Linked DNA regions of Homo sapiens: regions 2, 3, 4, 5, 6 and 7 are each linked to region 1. The links are contacts of gene promoters, found by promoter capture Hi-C in blood cells and fetal thymus (Javierre and others, 2016). All regions are on one chromosome and are shown on one strand. The core of a region is centred on a gene start or on the middle of the fragment in contact, and the rest is flanking DNA. Distances in the headings are between cores, read along the strand shown. Region 1 holds the start of WAPL (WAPL cohesin release factor). Region 2 has its middle 8.0 kb from the start of GHITM. Region 3 overlaps GHITM (growth hormone inducible transmembrane protein). Region 4 has its middle 12 kb from the start of LINC00858. Region 5 overlaps LINC00858 (long intergenic non-protein coding RNA 858). Region 6 has its middle 13 kb from the start of CCSER2. Region 7 overlaps CCSER2 (coiled-coil serine rich protein 2).

Evidence for each region. Contacts are between HindIII fragments. The CHiCAGO score rates a contact against its expected background, and 5 or more counts as called.
Region 2: a contact is called between a fragment that was not itself captured here and the fragment with the promoter of WAPL in region 1, in 1 of 17 cell types (neutrophils). The highest score is 7.5, in neutrophils.
Region 3: a contact is called between a fragment that was not itself captured here and the fragment with the promoter of WAPL in region 1, in 4 of 17 cell types (activated CD4 T cells, naive CD8 T cells, total B cells and 1 more). The highest score is 8.4, in activated CD4 T cells.
Region 4: a contact is called between a fragment that was not itself captured here and the fragment with the promoter of WAPL in region 1, in 1 of 17 cell types (naive CD8 T cells). The highest score is 6.3, in naive CD8 T cells.
Region 5: a contact is called between a fragment that was not itself captured here and the fragment with the promoter of WAPL in region 1, in 1 of 17 cell types (M0 macrophages). The highest score is 8.8, in M0 macrophages.
Region 6: a contact is called between a fragment that was not itself captured here and the fragment with the promoter of WAPL in region 1, in 4 of 17 cell types (M0 macrophages, total CD4 T cells, fetal thymus and 1 more). The highest score is 7.0, in M0 macrophages.
Region 7: a contact is called between a fragment that was not itself captured here and the fragment with the promoter of WAPL in region 1, in 2 of 17 cell types (fetal thymus and naive CD8 T cells). The highest score is 6.0, in fetal thymus.

Annotation. Positions count from the first base shown.
Region 1 is chr10:86,520,282-86,523,643 of GRCh38, forward strand. It overlaps WAPL (WAPL cohesin release factor), which reads right to left and starts at 1,511. Exons shown (of 19, transcript NM_015045.5): 1 at 1,084-1,511. It overlaps WAPL-DT (WAPL divergent transcript), which reads left to right and starts at 1,666. Exons shown (of 2, transcript NR_186498.1): 1 at 1,666-2,128; 2 at 2,228-3,362. RefSeq lists silencers at 1,005-1,424, 1,565-2,124. The HindIII fragment of the contact is 16,574 bases long and covers 1-3,362 here.
Region 2 is chr10:84,129,807-84,133,168 of GRCh38, forward strand. No RefSeq gene overlaps it. Among named protein-coding and RNA genes, the nearest start is that of GHITM, 8.0 kb to the right of the region's middle. The HindIII fragment of the contact is 6,346 bases long and covers 1-3,362 here.
Region 3 is chr10:84,149,306-84,152,667 of GRCh38, forward strand. It overlaps GHITM (growth hormone inducible transmembrane protein), which reads left to right. Exons shown (of 9, transcript NM_014394.3): 7 at 750-938; 8 at 1,404-1,575; 9 at 2,959-3,362. The coding sequence ends at 3,043. Among named protein-coding and RNA genes, the nearest start is that of GHITM, 11 kb to the left of the region's middle. The HindIII fragment of the contact is 2,134 bases long and covers 413-2,546 here.
Region 4 is chr10:84,266,258-84,269,619 of GRCh38, forward strand. No RefSeq gene overlaps it. Among named protein-coding and RNA genes, the nearest start is that of LINC00858, 12 kb to the right of the region's middle. RefSeq lists an enhancer at 2,959-3,362. The HindIII fragment of the contact is 1,269 bases long and covers 1,082-2,350 here.
Region 5 is chr10:84,293,569-84,296,930 of GRCh38, forward strand. It overlaps LINC00858 (long intergenic non-protein coding RNA 858), which reads left to right. Exons shown (of 6, transcript NR_038220.1): 6 at 1-1,091. Among named protein-coding and RNA genes, the nearest start is that of LINC00858, 15 kb to the left of the region's middle. RefSeq lists an enhancer at 1,326-1,565. The HindIII fragment of the contact is 2,234 bases long and covers 474-2,707 here.
Region 6 is chr10:84,314,391-84,317,752 of GRCh38, forward strand. No RefSeq gene overlaps it. Among named protein-coding and RNA genes, the nearest start is that of CCSER2, 13 kb to the right of the region's middle. RefSeq lists an enhancer at 1-524. The HindIII fragment of the contact is 1,206 bases long and covers 1,510-2,715 here.
Region 7 is chr10:84,333,109-84,336,470 of GRCh38, forward strand. The region is part of intron 1 of CCSER2 (coiled-coil serine rich protein 2); the gene reads left to right. Among named protein-coding and RNA genes, the nearest start is that of CCSER2, 6.2 kb to the left of the region's middle. RefSeq lists an enhancer at 849-898. The HindIII fragment of the contact is 3,683 bases long and covers 1-3,362 here.

The sequences.
Region 1 (3,362 bases), core at 261-2,760:
CGAAACTCCGTCTCAAAATAATAATAATAATGATAATAATAATTTTGTGCCAAAAGACCACGTCTTTTACAAATACATAGTGAAATACTGATGAAATAACGTCAGCGATTTTCCAACATTAAGGAATGAGAAGTGTATAGATGAAATAAATTTGTTTAATAGTCACTGCTAAATCCAAGCGATGGGTACAGAGAAGTTCATTATATAATATCTCCTCCTGATTGCCTTTATCGTTTCCCACAATAAAATGTCTTTGCAATGGCATTATCTAAGCGTAAAGCACTACAGATTCCAAAATAAGTGTGCAGACGTCCTTGAAGTTAAATTTTAAGTGTTTCAAGTACACAATCTTGCTCAACCTTTAAACTCCAAAGACTGTCCTAACTAAAAAGGAAAGAATGATTGACGACTAAGTCTTTTCGGTCGTTCGGCTTTTGCCCTAGCCCAAAATCAGGTCGAATTTTGAGAGAAGTGCGCTGTGATTTAAAAAAAAAAAAAAAAAAAAAAAAGCAAAAAGCCTTTATACTTCACTCCCACCCTAATCTAGCGTCTTCCCGATCCCCAAAGGCTTTAAGGGCTTCCATTAAAGATGGAAAGCGGACGGGACGAACCTGACTAACCAGAAATCCTCACCTGGGGACAGCCGGGGCGCCACGGGCAGTGGGCGCGATGGACCCCTCGGACTAGACACTCAATGCAACTTTTCTCCTCCCAACCCGCGCCGCCCAGGAAAGGGAGGTCACTTTCGACGCCCCGGAAGCCTCTGCCACCGAATCCTTAAGGCAGTGCAAGGCCCCAGTGGCGGCCAGAGGCGGATGAAACCACGGGAAAGGACTCGGGGCTGAAATCAACACACTTGACTGGGTTTGGGGAGCTAAGTCAATCAGCAGTCGCCCGAAAAAGAACTCCGAAAAAGGAAAATAAAAGGGGAAAAAAAGAGTTCCTCAGGTCATTCCCCTGCCCAACTTCCTCAGCGGCCCGGTGGGCGAGGCAGTGAGACTTCCACCGCCCGCTCCCAGCCTCTGCCTCCCCCACCCTCCCGGCTCCCTCCCGGCCTAGGCGGCCGCCCGACACCTCACTTACCCTCGGAGCCTGGCGGGTGCTTTGGCCACGGGCCGCCTCCGCCTCTCCCGCTCCCTACGGCCCGCGGGCGGGCGCGGAACCCTCGCGCGGGAGAGCAGGGCCGGCAGGTGAGAGCCGAGAGAGGCGAGGGACTCTGCTTTCGGTAAATAGGAAGCCCGGTTGGGGGGGCAGGAGCGGCGGCCCCGCAACTTCCCTCCCCGCCTCGAGCGCCGCCGGCCGGGCCCAGGCCTAGCTCTCGCTGGCCGCCACTGCTGGAGCTGGTAACAGAGCCTGCTGTGTGCCCCCGCTGGGCCGCCGCCGCCTCCTGCGCCGCCGCTTCCGCCGGTGAATGGTCAGTGCTGGAGTTTGAACAGGGCCCTGAACCATCTCAACGCCATTTGCGCTCCCGGCCCCCACCTCCTTCCTCCAACAGCCGCTCGCTCCGTCACTCCGCTTCCCACAGTCCCCGCGCGGCCGCCCGACCCCGCAGCCAATCGCGCAGCCGCTTACTCAAACCGCCGCGCAGGCGCTGCGCCCCGCATGCTCCGGCGCCCGCCATTGGCCCGGCCGCGGAGCCCGACGGGAGTTGTAGTCCAGGTCCGCGAGGTCGCGGGCCGAGGACCAGGCGCGGGAGCGGGAGCGGGCGACTGGCCGGGCCCTCCCGGTCTCGGCAGCCACTTCTAGCTCCCGGCCCAGCCGGGAGACGCAGGTGCCACGGAGATGGGCAGCCGGGCGGGTGGCGCAGTGCAGGCAGCTGTATCAATCGCTTCCCCTCCAGGGACCCGCCGGTGCCTGGGGACCGCGGGCTGTGCAGCTGTGCCGGGCCTGCGGAGGCCGCCGCCCGGGAGCTGGGAGGCAGGGGGCGCGTGGTCAAGAGCCGCCCTCGACCTGGCCTGGTCGGTCCTGGCCCGGCGTAGGTGACGATGGCGGGGACCGCGAGGCGCCGGACACCCGAGGCCACGAGCAGCGTCGCCCCTCGCTTTTTCGCGCCCCTCCAGCCCTGCAGTCCTTCCTCTAAGTCCGTCTGCCCCTCACCGATTGAAAGTGGCCCCGAGAATATTGGATGGTATTGAGCAATTATCATTAACTTTGTTGGGTGTGGTAACGGTAATGTGGTTATGGTTTTTTGTTTTTTTTTTTTTAAGACCTACTGATGTGTTGACAGAGTGATCTGGTGTCAGGACTGTAAAATACGCCTATGAAAACTGGGGGAGAGGAATAAAACAAGCTGGCAGAACGTTTTTCATCGTTGAAGCTGCGTGATGCGAGCATATGTGCTCATCATACAGTCTCTTTACTTGTGTATCTGAAATTTTCCATAATAAAAAGTTTAAAGAAGTGAACCAGCGATTGCCTCTAGGGAGGACAGTGAGGTGGCGGATGACGGGAGGAAGGAGTCTTAATTTTTCGCTGTACGCCTTTTTGTGCTATCTTAGGTTTTTCCCATTCAATGTGTTACCTAATTCAGAAAATTGGTAAGTTTTTTTTAAGGCTACCATGGGAAAACAGCGTTCTAAAGAGTAGCGCAACCAGTTCCCCCTAAGAGAGGTGCATGATTCGTCGGACTCCGACAGCCTTGGTGTTTGTTAGGCGGTTAATGGAGACCCACCTGGGAAATTAGAAAACTACTAATTGCTTTCAGTGAGAAGCCCGCCCTTCTCCCACAAATGGATAATTTGCTTTTAATGCACCCAGAAGTTATCCAGCTCCCTCCGGTATAATCGGGGAAACTCCAAATAAAGGAAAAATAGTTCAGAGACCCTGCAGCTCTTCCCAAGAGGAATTTAAGGTGGATTTTAGTGTGGTTGGATTGTTTTGCCTACCTGACTGCAGAATTTATATTCTGACATTTACAATTTCCTAAATACTGAATCAGTACTTTTTCTTGTTTCAAAATAAATCAACTTCTTCTGTAGTTTATATGAAAAACAAGTCCATGTCTTCCACTGTGGGTGGGATGCACATGACTGTTTTATTTGGGTCAGTTTTGTCTCTTTTTTTAATTGGCAGTTTAGGAACTTGTTTTTATCATTTTGTTTAAAGATCTTCTGGCAGAGGTGCAGGCTGCACTTACTATAATTATTTAGATGACAAGGTGGTGGGTGGTAATTAAAGGGTAATTATCATCAGAGGCAAAAGGTAAGATCAAAAAACCAGAAGAGGTGAGGAAACAATTGCAAGATCTTCCTGTAGGAGGGTGTCGTGATCCTCCCAAGACCAAAGGATATGTCTATTATGCCTGGCCTCTCTAGTGCTGGACACTTGGCAGGGTCAGTGCCTGCATGAGGCTGAAGTGGAAG
Region 2 (3,362 bases), core at 243-2,742, 2.4 Mb before region 1:
CTATGATTAAACTACTCTTTTGGCCTACTTGCGGTACTATTGCTAAAATGGTGTAACCTAATAGCTAACAAACTCATCATTATTATCCTTTTTATTTTTTGTAGAGATGGGGTCTCATTATGTTGCCCAGACTGGCCTTGAACTCCTGGCCTCAAGCAATCCTCCTGCCTCAGCCTCCTGACTATCTAGGGTTAAGGGCATGAGTCACTGCACGCAGCTACTACTATCCATCTTTTAAAGATACTTGCAGGCTGGGCGTGGTGGCTCACGCCTGTAATCCCAGCACTTTGGGAGCCCAAGGTGGGTGGATCACCTGAGGTCAGGAGTTCAAGACCAGCCTGGCCAACATGGTGAAACCTCATCTCTACCAAAAATATAAAAATTAGCCAGTCATGGTGGCAGGCACCTGCAGTCCCACCTACTCAGAAGGCTGAGGCAGGAGAATCACTTGAACCCAGGAGGCAGAGGTTGCAGTGAGCCAACATCGTACCACTGCACTCCAGCTTGGGCTACAGAGCCAGACTCTGTTTCAAAAAAAAAAAAAAAAAAAAAAAAAAAAAAGATCCATGCAGTTCCCACACTTGTGCATCTCTGATCATGTGGCTCAGAACTGAAATGTCCAGATGACAGTGCTTTATTACAAGCACACCCACCATTCCAGTAAATCTAAAGAAGTCTAGTGCTAAAATATATGAAATTTTTTAACTAAAAAGATTTTCATTTTTTTTAAATTATCAGTGTGCTTGACACTTAAAACCGACATATAAGGTAATATAAAATGAGTGCTTTCCACCCATAAGCATTTATGTACTAAAAAGATAAGCAAGGCAAGATGTAAAACATAGAAGTTAAAAATGAAAATAGTGTTGGGGCTGCTATTTGACAAGAACATTTTCAAACATGGCAGGTGAACTTCAACAGGGACTGATACCAAATAATTCACTCTGAAAATAAATATATAATCTATATTTACAGAGTAATGAGCTCAGAACCATCTGTTATAAACCAGTAAGGAAGACATTATAAACTACTGAAATGAGACACTAATTCAATATGATAGAGGGTGGAAAAAGTGAGACATTAACAAAAGCAGACTACAAATAGAATATAAGAAGGTATCCTAGACCACATAGTATCTATAATGTATAAAGATCTATTTTATTCACCTCAAGAAAGATAATTGAATTTATAAAAAGAAAAAACAGAGAGAGGGGTAACTAAAAATCATGAAATGAGACTCTGGTTGTTTAACTCTGAATACCAATAATAAAAGTAATAAATATTAGCAATTATCATGCACGTACTGTATTTAGAAATCTAATCCATGTTATTTCATGTAATCATCATAGGAATCTCATGAGACACATGTTACAGTCTTCATCTTATAGATGATGCATTAGTCTGCTCAGGCCGCTGTAACAAAATACCACAGACTGGGTGATTTAAACAATATACATTTATTTTTCTCACAGTTTGGGAAGCTAGAAGTCCAAGATCAAGGTGCCAGCCAGGTTGGTTCCTGGTGAAAGGTCTTTTCCTGTCTTATAGAAGGCCAACTTCTCACTGTGTCTTCACATGGCAGAGACAGAGAGAGATCTCTGGTTTCTCTTCATCTTCTGATAAGGACACCAGTTCTATTGGATCAACCCCCAACCTTATGATCTCCTTTAACCTTAATTCTATCCTTGGAGACCCCATCTCCAAATTCAGTCACATTGGGGGTTAAGGTTTCAATATATGAGTTGTCTGGGGGACACAATTCAGTCCACAACAGATGAGAAACTTGAGATCTACTCCTCTACCCTACCCTGGTCCCTGGGAGGCTGACCCCTGGGAACTGTATTGTCCTAGCTCCTTCTGTGTTAGAGTTGGGTTCAGCCATCAGGAGGAAATTAGAGGGTGAGAGGTTGAGATATTTATCCCTTTGGTTCCCATCCTGCCATGCCATGGTTGAATGGTGGCTATGGCACCTGTTTGGTGATCCTTCTCCTATACCTCCAATCCCTGCCAGGATCCACTAACTGTTCCCACCCATTGTTCCTCTAGGACCAACATGGTAACGGCTTCCCACTGCTGCTAATTCCAGGGTGCTTTACTATCCGTTCTGTTTCTGTTATCCCAGCATACACATTTGTCAATAGTGATTGTGTTAGACATTCTTCAATCGCCTCTTTTTGATGTACCATCTGTTTCCTACCAGATGCTAATAAAATAAGTGGTACCCAGGAGAAAAACCTTCAAAATAGGATTCTAAAATTGCTCACACATTTGATTAGAGGACAGATCACCTCTTTTGCAGACATGTGGTGCCATCATAATTACCCAAATTGTTACTGGTAGTGACAAGGGATGAAGTGTAGGTCCAGAGAAATTAATTGGGAGATAATTGTGGCATCTAGTTGCCAAGGCAAAAAGGTGGCACCTGTTTGGTAAGGCAGCAGAGGTCATGAGTACATGGCCAAGGAAAACCAAGTGACTTCAGGACCCAGGATCATAAACTGGGTGTTGCCTGATCCTCCAAATCAATAAGATTGGACATTCTCAACATTATTCCTTTGTTAACGGAAACAGTATTTACAGGAACAGTCTCAAGCAGGTTTTGAGGACGCAAATAACTGCTTGGGTAAATGCCTGAGACTCTCATGGTATCTTTTGTTCCTGCTTTGCCACCTTTTTCTCAACCCAAATCTATGATTTCATGGACCTTTTTCTATTACCAGTTAACCTAAGAGCATAAGCATGGGCCTAACCTATAGTTGGGTCTGCATGTTGCTATATTACAGCCCTAACTCAGGGACAGCCTTGAAAGACAGTGATGAAAATAAGTCTTCCCAGTGGGGAAGAAAGAGCTTAGGAGAAAAGACCATTTGAAAGTTCAATTTGCACTAAAGGAGATAGGGACTAAAATACAGGTCTACACTGACTCTTGGACAGTGGCTACAAGATTGGCCAACTGGTAAGAATTTGAAAAAACAAGATTGGCATTAGGTGATCTGGGAGAGAGGTATAAATGGACTTATAAAAACTGGCTCAGAATATGGACATATTTAAGTACCATGTGTATGCCTACTAGAGGACTCTCTCAATAATCAGGTTGATGTGATGTCTTACTGTATCGGTGGTTTTCAAGATGAACTCCAGATTTGAAGATTCACTAGAAGGACTCACAGGATTCGGAAGCCATTATAGTCACAGGTATAGTTTCTACGCAAAAAAAGATACAAAACAGGGCCAGGTGCTGTGGCTCATGCCTGTAATCCCAGCACTTTGGGAGGCCAAGGCAGGTGGATCACAAGGTCAGGAGTTCGAGACCATCCTGGCCAACATGGTGACACCCTATCTCTACTAAAAATACAAAAATG
Region 3 (3,362 bases), core at 230-2,729, 2.4 Mb before region 1:
TTATTCATCATCATGAGATAGTATACCTTATTAACCATATAACTTGATCTAGAAATGTTATTCTTTAAGCTAGTATTGAAAATTCAGTATAAAGATAGCTTTGTGCCTAGTCTATGAGGTAAACGACATTTAAGAAAAAGGTAACTTATTCTTCTTAGCACTGAAATAATGCATTATCTAAGTTTTTTTTCAATTAAGGAGTTCCATTTACCTTTGTTGAATTACTGGTAAATTTTTTACGAAATTGTTTATAAATATCTGACAACTAAAATTACTTATTTATAAGCTGTTAGCAGTCCTTATTACATAAAGAAACAGCAGTGTCTGTCTTAGAAGTTCCCACATTTTAAGTTTATCATCATATGCTTTCCCTTTTGACAGCAGTAGGTTTGACCTTGAGTTATTTGTTTTAAGCTTGTTTATCTCAATTATTATATGAATGTTGTAGAAACTAGTGGTAAGCTCAGATTCAAATAGCTACATGGAATTTGATGGTTACTAAATAAGTAGATTAGTGTTTGCTTGTGAGTGTGATTGATTAGGAATAGTGTTAATGTTGTGATATAGAATTTGAGTAGTCACCAATTTGGGCTGTAGAATTTGGTGGGGGTAGTATTATCTAAAGGCAGAACTTTTTGAATCATAGTGCTTAAACAGTAAGGTATAATATAAAGTGGCATGTTAGAAGTGATATTTTCCTTTTGCTTGTTATTTAGTAAATACTTAATGAGCACTTCCTCTTTCTCCAGGTGTGATGGGTGCAGTGGTGGCTCCTCTGACAATATTAGGGGGTCCTCTTCTCATCAGAGCTGCATGGTACACAGCTGGCATTGTGGGAGGCCTCTCCACTGTGGCCATGTGTGCGCCCAGTGAAAAGTTTCTGAACATGGGTGCACCCCTGGGAGTGGGCCTGGGTCTCGTCTTTGTGTCCTCATTGGGTAAGCTGCTGTGTTTTAACACTTAATTCTTGGTGCATAGTTTCCTGTAACCTGAAATACTCCAATATCCTAATTGATTGAGTCATTTATTTTAAAAGTTTTTTTAAAGATTTATGCTAATTTGACTGGATTTTACTACCTGACATCATATAAAAATCATGGCAACATGGTCAACCATTATTACTGGCTTTACCAAACACATCTAAAATGGGAAAGTTGGTCTGGAGAACATGAATATTGCTCTGATGCAAGAACCTTCCTGTGAAATGGGCAAGTGGCTCATTGGAGGAATGAGTATCATGGATTTTGAACTAATGCAAATAAGATTAGACAGTACATGTACCCAGATGTCGTCTTACCTACACAGTATACCAAGGAGATTTTTTTTTAAGTAATATAAATCATAAACTCAGTTATCGGAAATCCTTTTTTAAAAAAAATCTTGTTTTCGCATTTTGATTTCAGGATCTATGTTTCTTCCACCTACCACCGTGGCTGGTGCCACTCTTTACTCAGTGGCAATGTACGGTGGATTAGTTCTTTTCAGCATGTTCCTTCTGTATGATACCCAGAAAGTAATCAAGCGTGCAGAAGTATCACCAATGTATGGAGTTCAAAAATATGATCCCATTAACTCGTAAGTAATGCTTTTTATTTAACACTGTTACTCTGTCACATAAGGATGCTTGTGTGTATTTGACCTGTTTTGGTTTATGGCTGTATTAGTTTTCTAGGGATACTGTTAACAAAGTATCGCAGACTGGGTGGCTTAAAACAAAACTTGATTCTCTTGTAGTTCTGGAGGCCAGAAATCTAAAATCAAGGTGTTAGCAGAGTTGTACTTCTGAGGGCCCTGAGGGAAAATCTGTTCCCTGCCTCTCAGCTTCTTGTTACTGCTGGCAGTCCTTGACATTCCTTGGCTTGTAGATGGATCATTCCAGTCTCTGTCTCCATCTTCACATGGTGCTCTTCCTGTGTACCAGGGATTAGGATTTCATTATATTTTGTTGGGGGGCAGAGGAGGGTCACAGCTCAAACCACACCAATGGCTTTGTCAGATTTCCTGTTTTACTTCTGTTGCAGTTTTGTCTGTTCTCTCTTTAGTAAACTATCCAAAAAAACCTCTTGATTTTATTGCAACTTAGTGTAATACTTAGGTATTCATTCCATTATCAGAATATTTTGTCTATTTTTGTGAGCCAGTGTCAGGGTGCAATAAATAATGTGCTCTTACTGCTCAGTTAATTTTTTTGGTAGTGTATTTTGCAGACTTTAAAACTGAAGAAATGTATTAATCAAGTATTATTTATTGGAAAATGTATATAATTGACATGGAATTTTTAATAGAAAAGCCTATTTTATACTTCTAGAAATTAGAAACTCTTCAGTATAAAGAGTCTAGTTTCAGAGATATGCAACTTTAGTTGGTATTAATTGTTATTATGTTTTTTTCTTTTTTCTTGGAGTCGACCAAAGTGGGTTATTTTATTTAAACAATTTTCTTGAGTTTCATTGTGTCTGTCACATTTTTTTAAAGTAATTTGATTTTATCTAAAAATAAAACTTAATGTAATGGTTTAGGGGGAAGAAAAAGTTGCTGTACTGTAAAGCTTACAGATTTGTAGAAGTTTTCTTTAGAGGGGTGAAGTGGGTCTTTTATATTAAAAAATGCTAGACTTGTGTCTAACAGGTTTTTATAAAGGTGTTTCTTTGGTCTTGTTTTGATTATTTCATTGTCTGCCACCTAGTTTTCTTTGCAAGTTGATATATGCAGAGTGTCAGAGAATAAAATAATGATTTTTTTAAACTGCTCTTTAACATTTAAAAGATGAGTCTGCCAAAAGGAAGACCTTAACTATTTTCTAGTCTAGTACTTCATTAGTTGGCAGTTAAACATCTTATTTTTAATTTCCATTTTATATCACTAAGACAAATAGTATTTTTCTTCTTTTCTATATTAAGAATTCAACATCACTATTAGAATTGCATCATATATAATGGGCATAATTTTCTTTTCTAGGATGCTGAGTATCTACATGGATACATTAAATATATTTATGCGAGTTGCAACTATGCTGGCAACTGGAGGCAACAGAAAGAAATGAAGTGACTCAGCTTCTGGCTTCTCTGCTACATCAAATATCTTGTTTAATGGGGCAGATATGCATTAAATAGTTTGTACAAGCAGCTTTCGTTGAAGTTTAGAAGATAAGAAACATGTCATCATATTTAAATGTTCCGGTAATGTGATGCCTCAGGTCTGCCTTTTTTTCTGGAGAATAAATGCAGTAATCCTCTCCCAAATAAGCACACACATTTTCAATTCTCATGTTTGAGTGATTTTAAAATGTTTTGGTGAATGTGAAAACTAAAGTTTGTGTCATGAGAATGTAAGTCTTTTTTCTACTTTAAAATTTAGTAGGT
Region 4 (3,362 bases), core at 466-2,965, 2.3 Mb before region 1:
ACCCGGTAGGTGCTCAATAGATATTAGATATGTTCCATCAGGGACTTCATCATCTACTCTTTGCTGTCACTCAAGAAAAGGGTGTGTAGGAGAATTGTGATAATTGACTGGCGATTACACACCACAAGTGTCCCAACTACTCCCTCATTTAATCCCCACAACATCCTCACAAGCACAGTTCTCAACTTCGTTTGCAAATTTGAATCACCTGGTTCCTGGTGACTCAATGTGTTATCCCTGCACTGGAAGCCCCAACCTCATTTGGGAGCTTGTTCGAAATGTCTCAGGGTTGGGCGTGGTGGCTCATGCCTGTAATCCCAGCACTTTGGGAGGCTGAGATGGAAGGATCACTTGAGTCCAAGAGCTGGACACCAGCCGGGGCAACATAGTGAGCCCTTGTCTCTGTAAATACATACATACACACATACATACATACATACATACATACATACATACATACATACATAAAATAAAAATTTTTTAAAAAGAAATGTCTCAGGCCCTCAAGTCTCAGGGCCCAGCTCAGAACTCCTTAATCCAAATCTTCATTTTAACGACCCCTAGAGTTGGTTTGTGTGCACCTTAAAACTTGAGAAGCCCCAGAGAGCCTTACAGATTATAGCTGTCTAGGTCCCTGGCACAGAGATTCTGATGTGGTAGGTTTAAAGGGCTGGCTGGCTTGGGCTTTTTAAGCTCCCAGGTGATTCTGATATGCAGCCATGAGTGAGAACCACCACTTTTGGGGAGTGGTATGAACAGTTCTGTTTCATGAAGAGTGATTTAACTGAGATTTACTCTGAGTTATCTCTGAGGCCATTGTTTGCTGTTTTATATTAATATATATTTCTCTCTAGGTGTTCATTCTTCTTCACTTGCTCTTGTTCTATGGCTTGCTCTCATCTTTCTCTTACTAATTCTCCCAAATTCCAAAGACCATAGGCCAGCAGGAGAGCCTCAGCCCAAGGCTTTTTATTTTATTATCATGATATCATCCACAAGATAATAGGGCCAGGGCTTTTAGTGGGCGCACTAAAGAATAAGAGGTTAATAATACTGCTGAAGGTCATACAGTAAATGAGAAAGCTTGGTTTGTGCCTCCTGGCACAGGGATTTTTGGATATCAGTGCAGGCAATGCACATCCAAGATGCTGTAGAGCAGCACTTCTCAAACTCTTCGGTGCACACAAATCACCTGGGATCTTGTTAAATGCAGACTCTGGTTCAGTAGGCCTGGGTAGGGACCAAGGATGCATTTCTAACAAACTCCCAAGTAAACCGATGTTACTGAGTTGCAGTGTGTTCAGCCAAAGCAACCGATTATGATCCTAGCTGCTCCTCCATCACTTCCCAGCCTCTGACTGGGTGTTCATTGTCTCTCACCTGCCAGATGATTCAGATCAATGTTTCAAGTTGTGTCATTGGACTGAGCTCTGAAAACCTCCATGCCAGGCCTAAGATGCCACTGGGTGGCGCTCTGGTGCACCTCCCTATGGCATTTCCTGTTGCCGCACAGCTGTTGGGTGTTCACCATTCAACAACAATTCAACAAATATTTATTGAGCCTAACTGTAAGTCAAGTTTAAACAAGACAGACAAGGTCCTCATGAGGGGCTTACATTGTACTGACAATAAACAAGTAAATGTATAAAAGAAATCGTTACAAATTTTGATAAGCACTTTGGAGGACATAAACTAGGGAACAGATAGGGAAGCTGGGAGAGGTGGTTGGGAAAGACCTCTCTGAAGAGGTGATATTCAAGCTGTGACTTAAACGATAATAATAAGGCTGTCAGGTGAGGGCAAAAGGAAAATATTTCAGGCAGAGGGAACAGCAAGTGGGAAAGGGAGTGGCTGTTCGAGGAGAGGCATGAGGCTGGGGCAGAAAGCCCAAAGAGAAGCAACGGGAGACGCAGGGGACATGTCCATCCAGTAGGGCTGGCTGGGATGGGGAAGGGGAACAGTGAGTTTTATTTTAAGAGCAAATGAAAATCTTTGAAAGGTTTTCATCAAGAAAGTAACCAGATCTGGTTTCCATTTTTAACTGATGTCTCTGGCTGCTGTTTGGGGGCTACATTGAACAGTAGAGGCTGAAAATTGAAGTAGGGATTGTTACAATAGTCCAGACCAAAGATGCTGCTGCCTTGAACTAGGTGGTGGTGACGATAACAGTGAGATATGGACAGATTTGTTACACAGTTTTAGAAACAGATGTTACATGACTTGCTAGTGGTTTAAGTAAGTTTATCAGTTTGGGTGCTTTTGATTTCAGGTAACAGAAAATGTAAATATTAACAGTCTGAAAAATAAGTGCAACTTACAGATTCCCACAAATGAAAAGTGGAAGAGTGGAAGCTTCATGCAAGGTTTGATCAGGTCTCCAGGTTTATTTTTCTGTGATTCTCAGGTCTGCCCTTTCTCTCTCCCACTCTCTATGTGTCCATTTATTCTTACGCTAACTTTATTAATAACTCCAAGATGGCTCCTAGAACAATATACGTACATGATTGTGAGTTAGTTCTGTTCACATATAGGAGGAAGCAAGCATCATTCCCAATAACCATAAAATAAAAATCTTGAGTTGGGGCTTGATTCGACCACTTCTAAACAAATCCCTGTTTCCAGGAGAATTAAAATGATAGTTGGCTTAATACTCCCATTAATCCCCAGCTGCCAATGGACTGATTAGCTTAGCTTAGATGGGATTTATTGGAAACCATCACCATAGGTAAGAGGGTGAAATTATTTTAATTTGCTTGTACCAATAAAGGTACGGGTGTAGTCAGACCTACACAAATGACATAGTTGCTGAGTAGTGGGAGAGGGCAGAATGGATGCTGTAGAGAAAATTTCCATTTCCATTTGTAAATGAGGTGAGAATCGAGGACATGGGAGTACATAAGGATGGTACCTAGGGTTTTGGAGGTGCCATATACCAAGATGAGGAAGACAAACCAGGCTTGGGGGAGAATAAATACAGATGCCTCTTAGATACTCAGGTATTTGGATCTAGTGAGCATTTAGGTCTAGTGAGCATCTGGAAATATGAGCAAGAGCTGAAGGGAGTTGTCCTGGGTGTAGTCACATGGCATCATGTAGTCACATGGCAGGTGTGGGACAGAGTGACAAACTTTCAGCCACTTAGCACAGCCTCTCCCTGCCAGCTCGGGAATCAGAAGAAAAACCCTGTGATGAGAAGGTTAGAACTAGTGATTCTCTAAACCAAATAAAGCCATGAGCACCAATATTCTGCTACTAAAGGAATAAATGAAGATCTAAATGAATACATTACAATTACACATCTCTTTCATGTCTTTTGTTTGAGCGATCCTCAGAACAATGAAAGAAAGGTAGCAGGAAGAGAA
Region 5 (3,362 bases), core at 341-2,840, 2.2 Mb before region 1:
TTCTACTAGTTTCCACTACTGGACACTTGTCTGAGGCTGGGTCCCCACCTGGATCTTGTGGCCTCTTGCCCAGGGCTTGGAGGGAAGCTGCTCCCACACTTGAAGATGACAGCTGAGCATGGTCCTTTGTGGGCGTGCTGTCAGGAAGATGACAGTGCAATCTGTTTAATGTGCCAGTTGTCTCTGTGAGTCCCTCATCCGGATGAGCACTTGTCACACCCCTGCAGAGCCCCAGCTGGTTCTTAGAGAGGTGCTCCAGCTCTGTGATTACCTAATCTGGCTTCCCAATCTATCCCACAATGTGTCATTGCTGAGGTCCCTGTGGGTCTTGCAGATAAACTTGCTACAGTCATCCTACACAAAAAAGAAGCTCGTTATCATGAAACCGGCCTGCTTTTTAGCTCCTGGGCCCTAACTCACCCCAGATTGCTGCCAGCTCTTTTGTTTTCCCACTTAGACCAAAGGGATTGAGAAGCTTTCCCATTCCTTGGAGCTGCCACCCTCCATTCTAAGGCAGTCTCCCCCTTCACCCTGCTTGCTGCACCCCAGATGCTGCAAGGCCCATGTGCTGTTTTTGACTTCAGTACTTCAGATTGCTGTGGGAACACAGGAGGCAGCAGCCAGATGAGAAATTGAGTCTGACTCTGGAGTATTATAAAGTCCTTATAGTTACTGGCATTAGGTATAGGGTCTGTATTATTAAAGAGAAATTATTCACCAAACACTTGTTAAAAATGGCAAGACAGTTTATTTAAGAGCATTGCAATAGGTAAGTGCTATGGTCTCAATGTTTGTGTCTCCCTCAAATTCATAAGTTGAAACTTCACTTCCAAGATGAAGGAATTAGGAGGTGGGCACTTTAAGGGATGATTATGTCATAGGCCAGAGCCCTCATGAACGAGATCAGTGCCCTTCTAAAAGAGGCATTGGGAGAGACCCCTCACCTTTTCCATCATATGAGGACACAGCCAGGAAGCATCATCCACGAACCAGAAAATTGGCCCTTACCAGACACTGAATCTGCTGATGTCCTGACCATGGACTTCTGAGCCTTCTGAACTGTGAGAGATAAATTTCTGTTGTTTATAAGCCTTCTGGTTGATGATATTTTGTTATAGCAGCCCAAACAGAAGGGGACAGGGAGAGAGATGGAACTCAACTTCAAATACAAACAGGGACAAGTGGGGCTTTAGAGCCAGTGGGCCCAGTGAGGCAGAGGACAGAGAATTACTATGGGGAACTTGGGATAGGGGAGAGAGACCTGATTAGATATCAAGGGCAGGGGGGATTCCCAATAAACTGCCTCAGCAGAATTTTTGCTAAAACTGGGCTCAGCAGGCCATGGAGGAGGCCTAGTTGAGAAGAGGGCTCAGAGTGTGGTCAATGAGAGAGGCTTTGTCAGTTTCAGTCAGGGTTCTTCAGAGAAACAGAAACAATAAGAAAGAGAAAGATTGAGATTTATTTTAAGGGATTGAGTCATGCAATTGTGGATGCTGGCAAGTCTGAAATCTAGGGCAGGCCCTTTGGATAGAAATTCAGACAAGAGTTGAAATTGTAATCTTGGGCCCAAAGTCTGCAGGGCAGACCAGTGGGCTGGAAATCTAGACAGGATTTCTATGTCAGTTTTGAGGCAGAATGCCTTCTTCCCCTGACACCTCAGCTTTTGCTCCTAAGGCCTTCATCTGATTGGATGAGGCCCACCCACATCATGGAGGGTAATCTGCTTTACTTAAAGTCTGCCAATTGTAAATGTTAATCACATCTACAAAATGCCTTCCTAACAACATCCAGACTAGTTGACCAAACAACTGGCCCCAATCGCCTAGCCAAGTTGACAAGAAAAATTAGCCTTCACAGGGTCTGAAGAGAGTATGTGGACACCTAGACAGGTATGTTCAGTCCATCTTTGCTTCCAAGGGATGCTCACAAGTCTCCCCAGTTGATCCTATTTTTTAGGGAAGACAATGCAGAGGATCCTCCCCCACCCCCATCACCCCTTTCCATAACCTAGAGATAAAAATGAAGTAAGAAAGATTTGTTCCTGGGCCGGGTGTGGTGGCTCATACCTGTAATCCTAGAACTTTGGGAGGCCAAGGTGGGTGGATCACCAGCTCAGAAGTTCGAGACCAGCCTGGCCAACATGGCAAACCCCCATCTCTACTAATAATACAAAAATTAGCCAGGTGTGGTGGCGGGCAACTCTAATCCCAGCTACTCAGGAGGCTGAGGCAGGAGAATCGCTTGAACCTGGGAGGCGGGGGTTGCAGTGAGCCAAGATTGTGTCTCTGCACTCCAGCCTGGGCAACAAGAGCAACAAAAAACAAAAAACAAAAAAATTAAAACAAACAAACAAAAAAAGAGATTTGTTCCTGTACCTCAAGTGGACAACTGATGTCCAGAGACCCACTGGACTGAGAACATCCACCTTCCTCAGTTTCTGACTGCCGAGCAATGATGACTGGGGACATTTCATGCAGGTACATCACCGAGGAGTGAAGAAAGTAGTCACCTGAACCAAATAGTAAGGTCTCTGTCCCAGAGAGCCTGGGGGTTTGGCAAAAATGCTGTGAACACCCATATGGGCATTGCATTGTTAATCTGTACATGTGAACAAGAAAGGATTAGCCCCCAGACCTCATACTCAAGGATGATTGTAGTGGAAAGTCCCACTTCCCATTGTGCTTCTGCTTCCTGATGCTCAAGAATAAGCTTTAGGCTTGACCAAGTGGGGGTGGGAGGAAACACAAACAGAAACTGCCACTACCCTCCCCACAAGTAGAAAAATTTAAGCGTGTCTTGTTCTCTAATGAAGTTTTGTAACAGTAGCCTACATGGTGAAAACAAAGTCGAAGCCGCCTCCAGCGTGCTTAAAACCAGGTTTAAGCTGCTGGCTGCTACTGTTGCTTCACCAAGCACCTTAGTTCCAGGGAATGGGCTTCATCTCTGTTTCACAGAGAAGTCCCCTTTGCCAAAGAATGTGGGTGGCCTACAGAGAAGCAGGGCAGTGAATATACTTTCCCTGCCTTCTGTGATGCATTTTCTTCGTGCAGCTCTAAAGCAAGATTGTTTGTTGTTATAATGACGGCCTTTCCGTCTTTACTTACAACATCCTGTTCTCCCAGGACATTAAAGGCTGGGCTGAGAGACAAAGCTGAGGGACGCCTAGTCTGGCTGCCTCCCTGGTGCCAACCAAGTTCCTGACTGGATCAGGCTCAACCTACAGGAATTCCTCCCCCGTCATTCACTCACTAATGTGTTTTAAAAACATATTTTGAGTGCCTACTGCTGGTGCTAGGGAAACAGCTGTGACTAACCATCTCTGACATTCTGGGGTGCCCATCCTCACAAAGGAGGCCTCTGCT
Region 6 (3,362 bases), core at 863-3,362, 2.2 Mb before region 1:
GGGGCGCCCTGCACCAAGAGGCAACTCAGCAGGGCAGGCCCAGTGGTGGGAAAGGAGTCTACAGCGGTGGTCATGTCCCCTGTCTGCCCTGCCCAGTGTGGGGAACCCCTTAAGCCCATGTCCCACCACGAAACCTCCTCACAGCTCAGCTGCCAGTGAGGGGCTTCCCCTTAGTGCCCCAGGAATTTGGCAAGCTTTCAAGATCATCTTTTTCTCCTATTCTCAATCTCTTTTTCTGTTTGCTCCCATTTGCAGATATCCTCAACTTTATTTTCTAGCCGTTCTATTGAGTTTTCATCACTGCTATATCTTTTTCATTTTGAAGGACTCTTTTGTGTTTTTTATGACATTTATTCTTGTTTCATGGATGCAATATTTTTTCTTATTTCTCTGGATGTATCACTTATAGTTTTTAGGAATGAAGCATAAGGGGGCTAGTTTTCTTCCTCTTGGAGTTTCCAGATCCTTTCAGGTTTATTTGCCTGGGTCTCTATTTTCCATGTTAGAGGTTGTCCTCTAGTGTCTTGCAATTTTGGTTTCTTATTTGTTGTTAAATGGGGAGGGCAAAATAACAGATCCTACCAAACAATATTGAATTCTGTATATGTATAAAAGAGAAATTACCTTCTTTTTCAAATGAACATAAAACATTCATGAAAATTGACCAAATATTAGGCCACCAAGAAAATCTCAAGAAATTCCAAAGAATAGAAATTAAAAATTGTGGCCGGACATGGTGGCTCATGCCTGTAATCCCAGCACTTTGGGAGGCTGAGGCGGGTGGATCACTAAGTCAGGAAATCGAGACCATCCTGGCTAACATGGTGAAACCCCGTCTCTACTAAAAAATATAAAAAATCAGCCAGGTGTGGTGGCGGGCGCCTGTAGTCCCAGCTGCTCAGGAGGCTGAGGCAGGAGAATGGCGTGAACCCGGGAGGCGGAGCTTCCAGTGAGCCGAGATCGCGCCACTGCACTCCAGCCTGGGCGACAGAGTGAGACTCCGTCTCAAAAAAAAAAAAAAAAAAAAAAAGAAAAGAAAAGAAATTAAAAATTGCATTATCTGATCATAATGCAATAAAACTAGAAATTAATGACAGATTTTTTTAATCTGAAAATTCCTTTTTCCTGGTAATTTAAAAATACTCCTTTAAGCAGCTCCTTGGAAAATGAAAAAATAAAATTATTGAATTTCTTGAAAATAATAATAAAACCAAGACATATAATCTCTGTAATAATGCTAAAGTAGCTGTGTTTGTTGTTATGATATGTATATTGTTCTTTGTCCACAGTTCCTGGCGCATAACTCCCATAACTTTTGTTAGTCTTCTGTTACAATGTTGGGTGTGTTAAGTCTCAGGAAACAGAATCTCTCTGACCTTCTCCTCCCCTTCTTTCACCTGCCCAAAGGCAGGACTCTAATCTTTCCTCGTTTCTGACTGTGAGTCCTAAAACCCTTATTCCAGAGAGGGTTCCACTCCATTCCCTGGGGGAAGAATGCTGAGGTCCCGAAGCTTCCATGAAAAGCCAAGATGCCTGAGTTCAGAGAGGTTCCAGGTAGCTGAATACATGGAAGTTTCTGAGGAGTGGCACACCCCTTCCCCCCTACCTCTGCCTATGCATCTTTTCATCGGTATCCTTTGTTACATCCTTTAAAATAAACCATTAGGCCGGGCGTGGTGGCTCACACCTGTAATCTCAGCACTTTGGGAGGCCGAGGCGGGTGGATCATGAGGTCAGGAGTTCAAGACCAGCCTGACCAATATGGCGAAACCCCGTCTCTACTAAAAATACAAAAATTAGCTTGGCATGGTGGCCAGGCCTGTAATCCCAGCTACTCTGGAGGCTGAGGCAGGAGAATTGCTTAAACCTGTGAGGTGGAGTTTGCAGTGAGTTGAGATCATGCCATTGCACTCCAGCCTGGGCAACAGAGCAAGACTCCATCTCAGAAAAAAATAAATAAAATAAAATAAACCATTAAATATAAGTGTTTCCTTGAGTTCTAAGAGCCACTGCAGCAAATTAATCAAATCCAAAGAGGGTCATGTAACCCCAACATTTTTATTTAATAGAGATGGGATCTCAATGTGTTACCCAGGCTGATGGCAAACTCCTGTCGTCAGGTGATCCTCCTGCTCCCAAAGTGTTGGGATTACAGACATGAGCCACCATCCCCAGCTGGGAACCTCAACTTGAAGCCGATCAGTCAGAAGTTCCAGAGTCTCGGACTTGCCACTGGGTGTCTAAAGGGAGGGAGACTAGCTTAAGGGACTGAGAGCCCTCAACCTGTGGGATCTGATGCTGTCTCCAAGTAGATAGTATCAGAATGGAATTGGAGAATATGCAGCTGGTGTCCACTGCTTGTTGGTGGGGAAAAAACTTCACACATTTGGTCACAGACATTTTCTGTGTCGATTGCTGTGTTGGTGTGAAAGCAGAGGGAAAACATGGTTTGAGAATTTTTCCCAAAGAGCAGTTATTACAGGAAAATTTATGCCTTTAAGTATCTGGCGCAATAAAAATGAAAGCATAAATATAAATAAATTTAATGTCTGAAATAGAAAACAAAATGGCAGAGTAAAACCAAGAGAAGCAAAAAAGGAATTAATAAAGATAAAATTATAAATAATGATTTGGAAAACAGAAGAGTAAAAATAATAAATTTAAAAGCTAGATATTTGAAAAACACAAAAAATACACAAACTCTTATCTAATTTAAGCTTTAAAGAAGAGAAAACACAAATACAAAAATATAGAAATAATAGCATAAAAAATAGAAAGCAATTTAAGAAGAAAGTACTTTGTTCAACTCTGTGCAAATAAGTATGAAAATCTGGAAGAAATGGGTATTTTTTAGACAAATACAACTTACTAAAATTGAAACCAGTAGAAACAGAAAGTCTAAAACTAATTTCTGAGGAGGAAATGAAAAGGCTGAATAGTTCTTTCATAAAAACAAAGAAACACTAAGCCAAATGATATCACAAAGGACTACGTAATCTTTAAGGATCAGCTAATTCCATTGTTACTTAAACTATTTCAGGACATTTCATTTTAGGAAGCGTATTTTTTGTAGAGACAAGAGTCTCTATTAATTATACTATTAATCCCCCAACCTGACAAAGATTGCATTGTTTTTATTCCTATATATTTCAGATTTGTTTGGAATAAATTTCAAAGATTTTTATTCCAATAAAAGAAAACCACAGACAATTCTCCCTTAAGAATTTCAATGCAGAAAACTTAAAATAGACCCTGGCAGCAGATTAAATGATGCATTGTGATCAAGTGGGGTTGATTTTAAGAATGCAGTGTTTCAATGTCAAATTGAAATTTGAGAATGCAAAGTGTTTCATTAATATATG
Region 7 (3,362 bases), core at 384-2,883, 2.2 Mb before region 1:
AAACTAACATTTTTATGACAGCAATATATTGGTTAATTGAAATTTTTGTCTGTTCAAGATTAACCAGAGGGTTGTCTTTAACTCTTATTGCTAATCATTCTAAAATATATGAAAGGAAACCTTAGTAATCTGCTCCCACTGGGGAGCAGGTTACTCCCATTCTAGATAGATGAGACATCCCAGGATAATAGTTAACATTGAGTGCTGGGTGTTTTGCTGGTTCTTGGCATGGAGTTTCTTACCTAATCTTCACAGCAACCCTAGGAGGTAGGTTCTTTTAGTATCCTCATTTTGTGGATATGAAAATATAGAGACTGTGACCTGCCAAGGATAACATAGGTAGTAAGCATTGGAACTGGAACTCAGTCAGCCTGCTTTTAAAAGATGCTATTTCAAAAGTATTATCTTATTATCCATGCCAAGGATTTGGACTTCATTTCTTAGACATTGGAAAGATTAGGTGTTGCAAAGCAAGGGGATGATATGGTATGTTATCTCTTTTAGGGAGATTGCTCATGTGACAATGTGGCTATATATTGAATTATGTTTATAATAGGAAGTGGTTGAAATATTCATGTGAGAAATGAAGGCTAAACCTTGAGGTGGAAGTGGAGATCGGGATATTTTGGAAATATATAGGAATTAGTAACTGATACACAACAGAGTGGGAAGGCAGTGTATTGATTTGGAAGACATTGAGTGGGGTAATGACAGATGAATATGTGCTCACAGCACTTTGTTATATTTCTTTCACAGCGTTGACTGTGATGTATTGTACCTATTCTAGTAACATATCTGTCTCCCCCACTGGATTGTGTGCTTGTCAAAGATAGGGACTGAGTAGAGGAATGAGTGAATATAGGATGAAATAATACAGAAAGGTCAAGAGACTGAACTGGGAAACACCAAATTACCAAAATGAAAGAGTGGGTGGAGGAAGAGTAGCTCTAGAATGTGACAGCTGTCAGGGAGGATGGGGGAAGAGCCATCAGGGAGGAGGCAGAGGGGTAGGGAAGTATTAGCACAGACATGAGCATGTAGAATGCTGCCACCTCAGGCTACAAACAGTTGTGGTTGGTGTGCCCTGCTGTCATAAGCTGATTGTGGTTGTATAGGGTGAACTTGTCTTTCCGTTGTTATTGACTACTTAAGTTTTCTCTGAGTATCTGATGGCTTTCTGCCTCTTTGGCTTCTGACTTCTGCTTGCTACAGGTGCTGATGCTGGGGTGTGATTCAGCCTATTGAGATCAACCAATGAGAACAGTCCTTTCTTTTTAAGTGAATTGACCAATCATAGTATGTGAGATGTAATTTCTGAGTTTTTAGCTCTTCTCTGATGAGTTGATTGGTTTGGAATGTCCTAGAGTTACTTCTCTACCTTTAAAGACTTCTGGTTGATTATATTAAGGTTTGGAGCCATTGGGAAGCCAGAGGATTCTTAAAGGTTGGATCCATGAGCACTGAAGTTTTTTACCTGTTTATTTTTTCAAGTTGATCAGTAGCTTAGTTTCAGTATAGTTGGATCATCTTTGAAGACTGTTGGTCTTAAAAATGCCACAGATTATTCCAAATAATTAAGAATCTCTGTTTTCTTTGTACTTTATAGCTACGTAAGACAGGGGCTTGTTTTAAATTTTCTTGGTCAGCTCCTAACTTACTTCATATGTCTGTTTTTCAAAGAGTTACTTGGTAAAGGAATTTGCTATTGATTTTTTTCTACAACCATTTGCTTCAGGCCATCCTTACCCTCTGTTCTCTGCCTTCTCCTGTTTTCATCTACCCTGTTTCTGTCCTTGATAAGGACAGTGGGAAAGGGAAAAGAGAAAAAGCATGAGGGATTACTCCTTCCTTCCCTTTGTTATGGTAGTTGTTACTGCTCTCCTCCCTGCCATCGCTGCTCCCAGCTGTTCACTTTGGCATGGTCTCCTACCCTGTATCTTGAGTTCTGTGTGTGAGAATAGAAATGCAAGGCATGGCTCTTTAGCTGAGGAACGATGGGCATCTCAGGGTTTTGGTCCTTCTGTGATCTCTCTTTTGGTGCCTGGTATTGAAAAGCCCAGTGACATCTTGTATCTGAGCAAGTGTTTTCTGTTCCCCAGCATTCTACTTCTCTCTCTCTCTTTTTTTTTTTTTTTTTTTTTTTGAGACAGGGTCTCTGGACCCAGGCTGGAGTGCAGTGGTGTCATCATGGCTCACTGCAGCCTTGACCTCCTGGGCTCTAGCTATCCTCCTGCCTTGGCTTCCCAACCTGTACTCAACCTGTAGCTGGGACTACAGGCATGTACCACCATGCCTGGCTAATTTTAAAAATTTTCCATAGAGACAGGGTCTCCCCATGTTACCCAGGCTGGGCTGAAACTCCTGGGCTCAAATGACCCTCCTGCTTTTACCTCCCAAAGTGCTGGGATTACAGGTGTGAGCCACCACAACTGGCCCTGCTTTTCTTTAAAATGCAAAATTAAATTCCAGTCCTGTTTTTTTGAGTTGCCTACCCTCCTCCCCAACACTGCCCCCATGTCAAGATTGCAAAACCTTTGATGACGAAGGCCCTAGTGAATACGCTAGGGACAAAGAAGCAAGACAGATACCAGAAGGTACTTTGAATTGTTGTTGTCATCATATTAATGATATTTCGTTGCAGCCTGAGTGCTTTAGGGCAATTTGAGAGCTTTCTCTGACCATTATCTCTTGGCAGCCAGTGTTAGGGTTGGGAGTTATATAATAATTTTCTCTGAAGATCTTAGCTTAGAAAAACAGGGACTATTCATAATAGCTATTTAAGTCTGTAGAATGGACTTGATGATATTTTGGTCAGAGTTGGTAGGCCACTTTATAGGAAACATCCAGGTGATATTTCTTTTCGGGGTGGGGAGGCAGGGATGGCCATCTTTCTGTTTTGTTTTGTTTCTTTTCCTTATTTAAAATTTTTTCTCAGGTATATTTTCCTCATTTTAGGAGTAGTATGGTATGGCTTGTCAACCTTTATTTATTATTGGTACTAGCTAGAGATGTAGACTTGGCCATTGTTGTGGCCTTTCTTGCAGTCATGTTTTTCCAGGACTTGAGATGTTTTACATTCTAAATTCCTTCAATCCTGGCTTAGAGAATAGATTCTCAGTCTGGATTTTTCTCATTCATTCATTCAAGAAATGTATTCCGAGCACTTGCTAGGAATAGTTCAGTCAACAAAACAAATTTTCTGCCTTTGTGGAGCTTACATTCTAATGACAAGATACAGAAAATAAGTATATGTGTAATATGTCATCTATTACATTGCTGTGGAGAAAAAGCAGGAAGAGGTGAAAAGAACATGTGAGGGTGATGCTGCTGTTTTATCTAAGGTGGTTAGGGAAGGCTGTAAT